Linked DNA regions of Homo sapiens: region 1 is linked to region 2. The links are contacts of gene promoters, found by promoter capture Hi-C in human tissues and cell types (Jung and others, 2019). All regions are on one chromosome and are shown on one strand. Each heading gives the region's core, a stretch centred on a gene start or on the middle of the fragment in contact. The rest is flanking DNA. Distances are from core to core; before and after follow the strand shown.

Evidence for each region. The method cuts DNA at HindIII sites, captures the fragments that hold promoters and counts their contacts. A contact is called where the count stands out against the background at its distance.
Region 1: a contact is called between a fragment that was not itself captured here and the fragment with the promoter of C6orf141 in region 2, in 1 of the 25 tissues and cell types used here (dorsolateral prefrontal cortex).

What each region holds. Positions count from the first base shown.
Region 1 is chr6:47,793,702-47,797,159 of GRCh38, reverse strand. OPN5 (opsin 5) reads right to left here. Exons shown (of 7, transcript NM_181744.4): 4 at 1,597-1,931. Among named protein-coding and RNA genes, the nearest start is that of OPN5, 13 kb to the right of the region's middle. The HindIII fragment of the contact is 3,438 bases long and covers 1-3,014 here.
Region 2 is chr6:49,548,871-49,552,399 of GRCh38, reverse strand. It overlaps C6orf141 (chromosome 6 open reading frame 141), which reads right to left and starts at 1,732. Exons shown (of 1, transcript NM_001145652.2): 1 at 305-1,732. The coding sequence starts at 1,607. The coding sequence ends at 873. RefSeq lists enhancers at 412-931, 948-1,017 and a silencer at 1,688-1,747. The HindIII fragment of the contact is 21,386 bases long and covers 1-3,529 here.

The DNA of each region.
Region 1 (3,458 bases), core at 46-2,545, 1.8 Mb after region 2:
TCCCCCCACCCAGATCTCATCTTGAATTGTAGCTCCCATAATGCTCATGTGTCATGGCAGGGACCCAGTGAGAGGTAATCGAATCATGGGGGCAGGACTTTCTCATGCTGTTCTCATGATAGTGAATAAGTCTCACAAGATCTGATGGTTCTATAAAAGGGAGTTCCCCTGCACATGCTCTCTTGCCTGCCACCATATAAGACATGACTTTGCTCTTCATTTGCCTTCTGCCATGATTGCTAGGCCTCCTCAGCCATGTGGAATTGTGAGTCAATTAAATCTCTTTCCTTTATAAATTATCCCATCTTGGGTACATCTTCATTAGCAGTGTGATAGCAGACTAATACAATATGCAACCAAGAGATCTTTGTATAACTCCAAAAATTCTGCAATTTGGAGAGAGGCATATTACCAGAACCAAGTCTCTGACTTACTAAAAAGCCATCTCTTATCTGGGGGAAACTGTGTTTCTCTGGGTCCCTGAGACTAGTGGTCTCCAAAGTGAACATGAGAATACTCGAGGGTAGGATACCAATCAACGTGATTGATTGGGATACAGGAAGAAATAATTATAACTTCAATCTACCTTTATTTTTATCTTTAAAATAGAAGAGAAAATTTGGGGGGTTAAATTAGGGGGTGCTAATATTTAATACAAAGCTTGATGGTATTACCTGTATGTCATTTATATTGATGGCATGTGTTGGAAAATATTTTTTCAGTACAAGGGCAAAAAATCATGAACATGTGAAGACCACTGCTTTAGACTTTACCAGTAATTCCTAACAGGCATAAGGAAAAAGGAGAAACCATGGTTGCTCTAACACCTTCTATGCACCAGATGACAGAATAATATACTTTATCTCTTTGAATTCCCACCGTAACCCAATAAGACAGATATCACTATTCCTGTTATGCAAGTGAGGAAATAGGGATTCAAGAAAGCTAAATATCTAGTTCTAGGTCACAAACTTGGCAGGTACTGGTGATGGGATTAAACTCTAGTCTTGTTCTTTTCCTTACTCCACAATACCTAAAGAACTGTCACCTCTGAAACTACCGTTTACCAAGGTACTCAAGCCTGCAGAAACTGCTCGTGTTCATAACACAAGCTTCCCATGGGAAAGCACACATGGTAAACTCTTACTCTATAAATAATTCAAGTGGTAGAATGTCCCTAATGATGTCCCAAAGTCCATGCAACGCAGAAAATACTGTGAGGCATTGTATGATTCATAAAAGTTATTCTTATTACTGAAATAATGAATATGAATCAATAGTACCCTATTCAGCAGAGCAGATAAGCCCCAAATTGATGGGTTATACAAATTTTGTAGATATTGAAAATGTGTGTGTGTGTGTGTGTGTGTGTGTGTGTGTGAGAGAGAGAGAGAGAGAAGAGAGAAGTGGGGGTACAGAGACAGAAAGAGGAGAGAGATACCACAAAGAAAGGCTTAGACAATCATCAACGAAGTTCAGAATTACGTAAAGAATAGAGATTCTAAGTTCTCTCAGTCTCCAACGTTCCCTATCCTTTGTACCCTATGAAGTTGTAAGTAGTCAGAAAACACATGTGTAAAATATTAGTGCACTTACCTTTGTCAGTTTCATTTCCAGCACATGGCTGCTATGGATCCGACTGTCGAAATGAGCTACTTCTTTGGAAGAGGACTTAACCTTGGCAATGATCTTTACGTAGGAGAACACGATCACAGCCGTTGGGAGCAAGAGGCAGAAGAAGAGGATGTTCAGGATGAAAACCTGGCCCCCTACCGAGGCCTGGGCCAGCCACCAGTCCAGGGTGCACGAGGTTCCGAAGGGCTCAGGTACGTAGTCCCCCAGACCTACCAAGGGCATGGTGGTCCAGAAGGAAGCATAGGCCCAGATGGCTGCCAGGCAGATGTAGGCGTGCTTTCTTTTCAGCCAAACCCCTGGAGGCGGAAGAAAAGCATTACCCGGATGTAATCTGCCCTACACCCAGATACCTCCCCTCGATATGTCAAATTCCACCTCCAAAGATTTATTCCATTGATTTCTGGGAGACCTGGGCAGATAACTGAAGCCTGAGGGAGAGTGGAGTAAACGGAAAAAAGTTCCAGAGCTTGGGCCTTTCTCCAGGAGAACACAATTGGAAGGTTTTCTCTAGGCATCTGGGAGCTTTGGGAGGGAGAAGTGACAACAGCTGGGAAAAGGGACAGGAAAGAGATGAGAGGATGCTGAAGACAATGGAGGCCCTTGAGAAAACATCTCGGAAAGGGTGTGTTAGTGGATCATCCAGGGAAAATCCTTCTGGGAGGTGAGGAAGCACAAAACATGGCTTGTGTCTTTAAAACGCCCTTCCTGCTAACAGCTTTTGTGTTGCTAGTCTTATCTGGCTTCCTAAGAACTTGTGGAAGGGGCTTGGTGGCTCGTGATCATGACACTATGGTTTGAGATTAAAGTCCTTGACTGTGTTTAGTAATTTGTGGAGCAGGTTTGGAATCTTCAAACGTCATTCACACAACAATCGCGCTCACACAGCCACAGCGGGAGAGGCAGAGAATCTAGGTAGGTTGCATCATGTTCTGCAAAGTAATTCTGTGAAGATATTTTCAGGAAGACAAAAAATGAGCTCCGTTTTTCAGCACTAGTTTCTGTTAACCAAAAGAGAATTCCAAGCGGAGGAAATAGTGCAGTCATCTAAGAAAAGCTGTAAAGCACTAGTGATCATTTTCAGAATTCAACACAACCACCAAAGACAGGTCGGCCTGATTTAGTGCAGCAGCCTCCACAGGAAATTACCTTCACACCTCACTCATCACCTCGAACGAAGAGGGCCAGGAAAGTGACTCTTTACTGCCTTGGTTTTGTGTTAGCAGAGAAGAAATATCAAAATATATTCAACAAAAGCTAAATGATTACTTCAATATAGACTCAGGGCCTGCCTCTGCTTAGTGCAATGTGAGGTTTGGAAAGTCGGTCAGGCCTAATTCTTCTATGTCTAGTCTTTGACTGACCTTGTGCATGCAAGACTATATTGCATATGGGTTAAATAAAATAATGTAAGGGGCCTGCTTTGCAAACTAGAAAGTGCTATATTAACATGAATTATTTTACTCCTGTGTAAGTGTATCTCATTTAGCGCTAATAAGAAATATAACAGATTGTTTCTATACTCTATTGTCTCCATTTTTTTCAAATACATGGCATTTTGTGTCATGAAATGCAAATTTCATGCCCAACCAGATAGGGGTGGCAATCATGTAGCCACAATATAAGTCAGCTCTTGTTTCTCCACTAAAACTGATAAAACATTGGCACAGGTAATCACATATATTCATGGGAATGTGCATAGGCATACGTATAAGCATTTATGGTTAGGGTTACTTGTGAGGTGTTTTATACTTACATTCCAGTATGGTGAAAGGCTGTCAAGTACAGGAGGGAGTAGATTAGTAGATTGGTTCTGTGTTGCTCCA
Region 2 (3,529 bases), core at 483-2,982:
GTTTCAGTATTACCAGAGGAGATTTTTTTGAACTACACAAGGAGAATGGTATCTTCAATCTATTCTTGACTACAAGTCTCATTAATGAAGAACTATGGAAAAGAATAAGACATGCATTCATTTTATGGCAAACTACATATTGCTATCTACCTTTAGTTCAGAACATTTACATGCAGTATTTTTAATATTAAAATTAAAATGTATGATAAATGCATGTTTACAGGACTAAATTAGCTATTGTTTGCAGTAAAGCCTTTGTAAATGGAATTTCACGTTGAAATCTTAGTCTTCTGTCCCCAACTCCTTCTTTCCCTAGCTCCTCTCGTTTTCTTTCTAACACTGAAATGTGGGGGAGAAAAATGAAAAGTGCACATCAGAAGAGAGTCACTTGCTGCTTTGGTTTTACTTTCCCATTTCTTTTTACTTTCTGTTTTTGGCTTTTAAAACAAGCCTCTTCTCCACCCACTCCCACCCTCTTTGCAGAGAGCAGACTTCAAACTTCACTTCTGTTTCTAGGTCCTAAAGAGAAACAAGAGGGGGGCGGGGAACAGAAAAGAGATCAATTGAGAGTTATTCCAAAATGCAAATTAACAACAGGTTTTCTCATTTCAAAACTCCCACATTCTGCCAATCTGAAAATATCTTTTCTCCACCTCTTCTGAATGACTTAGGTCCCCAGACAGCGAAGGAATTCAAGCCACAAAGGAGGTATTATGCTGCTTACAGTTCTTAATCTGCCTCCCCGAAGCGCTGCACCAGCCTCTCAAAAGGTTCCTTCTGTAGGTTAATTGCAGGTTGGAGCTCCCAGAATAGCATTTTCTTTTAAGGATGATCGCTCATCCACCATCCCGGAACATTTCTCGAGCTACTCATTAGAGTTTAATTTCCTCGAGCCAAGTCCCTGGAGACGGTGAAACCCTCCTCCCCGCGGCGTGGACGCGGGATGCCCCTGTTCGTGCCTGGAGAGCCCGGGATTCAGCAGGGCCCCAGCGTTCCCCAGGCTGTCCCTCTCTACTGCTGCGAAAAGTGAGCGCGGTCACGAAGTGCTCCTCAGTCCTCGTGGTCATGCGACCCTTGGCCCAGGAGGTCTGCAACACTTCTTGTGTTACCTGATAATCCTCCACCCGCACAAGCACGTATTTGGGTGGGTCTGCTGCGTCCCGCGGCGGGGCTACACGCCTGCCAGAAATTCGCTTTTGTCGTTGAAAGACAGAAGGGTAGTTGGGCTCCTCGCCGTGGTCCTCTCCACCCGCATGAGGAAGGTCCTCTGCACCGGCCACCTCTTCCCGTGCAGGGTCCCCTCGAGTCCCTAACCACCTCTCTGGGTGCAGGAGAAAGAGCACTTTCTCTCTGACCCAGGACTCACGGTCCAATTCCTCCCCGGCCCGAGGTCCGAGGGCCCGATCTGCCGTTCTGTCCTCGTGGCCGCCGCCCTGGCTTCGGCTCGCCCCTGCCGTCGCGGGATTCCGGGCGCCCGGAGCTAGCGGAGCCCCGCGCCCTACCTCCCGCGGAAAAGGCCCGAGGTCCCCCAGGCTGCGGGAGGAGTCCATGGGATTCGCAGCTCCCTGAGGCCCCCGGGTCTCCATCCTGGCAAAAGGGTCATTCATTCGTTCCTTCTTTGACCGGTTCAAGCAGCAAGCGCCTGCTGAGCTCCGGAAAGCGCGGGACCACCAAGCCCTGGGTGTGGCCTCTGCTGCAGCTCCGGACTCCCAGCCGGTGAAAGCTGAAGACTAGATCAGCCCCAGGCTAACCGCGTGCGGAACCCGCCTCTTCACCCTCCGCCTCTCCCACCTGGCGGCTGTCTAGCCATTCAGAAGAAGCTTGACACAAGCCCCAGTCACTCCTCTTCTTCCTCCTACCCCTGTCCGGAGCCCTGCTCCCTTTGTCATTCGCTGATTCAGTCCCCTCTTACTTTTCACCTCTATCCTAGTTTCCCACCCACCTTTCGTTTTTCTCCGGAGCTGAGGCGCAAAGGACACCCTCGCACTGCGCCCCCACTGAAATGCCCCGAAGTATGTTTGCTTTCCAAGGACGCTCCTTGAGGTGAAGGAACAAAGAAGTTTGTGTGCATTTTAATTAGCTGATCTAATTCTGAAAAGGGTTTTTGTCCATTCCGAATCCACTCCCACCATGCTGCCAAAATAATGGAATGTAGATCAAATGGTCAGACTGAAAAGCTGAAGCCTTGGAGAAACTGGTTTTGGTTTCTTTGTCCTTCTTCCTTTAGAATGCCAGAATCTGTAGCTCTGGAGGACAATGGTCACACCTGTGTCCTCCTCCTCCTCTTCCTCCTCCTTCTTTTTTCCCGCTCTCTTTCTCTCTCCCTCTCCCCGCTCCCCCTTCCTCTTACCCCACCCCCCCACATTAGATATGGTCTCGCTCTGTAGCTCAGGATAGAGTGCAGTGGCGCAGCCTCGACTTTCCAGGCTCCCACCTCAGCCCGTCAAGTAGCCGGGACTACAGGCGCGCACCCCCATGCCCGGCTTTTATTTATTTATTTATTTATTTATTTATTTATTTATTTATTTATATTTTTCTAAGAGATGGTAGGGGTGGGGCTCTCCTATATTGCCCAGGCTGGTCTGGAACTCCTGGGCTTACGAGATACCCAGGATCCCCCACCCTACCCACACACCCACCTGGGCCTCCCAAAATTCTGGGATTACAGGCTTGAGCCACGGCCCTGGCCAGTCTTCATTTTGTGTGTAATCAACGCTTGTCTCAGGAAGGTGTAGTCTTTGATTTAAAACAAGCTATAAAACAGAAGCAAAACAAACATCCAAATGAATTTTTTCAGGACTTAAAATTGTTTGTGTTTGTGTCGTTTATAAAATTCCCTCTGCACCCACCCGTCCTCTTTAACCACAGGGGTTAAAAAAAGTTAAGTGTCTCTGGCGAGGCTTTTAGAATTTACCCATAGGCAGGCCCGCTGACCACTACTCTTTGCCTAAGGTTAACCGGGGAGGCTAGGTCATAGAAAAAGAGCTCAGTTTGTGGTTTCCAGTTCATCCTTAGCTGTTTGTTTTATTAAAAAACCCACTGATGGCTGGGTGTGGTGGTTCACACCTGTAGCCCCATCATTTTGGAAGTCTGAGGCCGGTGGATCACTTGATGCCAGGAGTTTGAGACCAGCCTGGTCAGCATGGTGAAACCCAGTCTCTACAAAAAGTACAAAAATTAGTCAGGCATGGTGGTACACACATGTAAGTAATCCCAGCTACTTGGGATGCTGAGGCACCAAATCGCTTGAACGGGAGAGGGGGAGGTTGCAGTGAGCCAAGATCATACCACTGCTCTCTAGTGTGGGTGTTAGAGCAAGAATCTGTCAAAAAAAAAAAGAAAAAGAAAAAAAAAGAAAGGAAAGAAAGAGAAATCTAAATCCTGCCTGATTTAGAAAAATGAGTGCAATGGTGAAAAATTCTGCCCATATGTAAAAAACAAAGTAGTATAGTGAGATATTTGGAAAGGGAGGACTTTTGATATCTGCCAAATCATATAAAGAAATAAAGTGATAGAGGAGGAGTGAGAA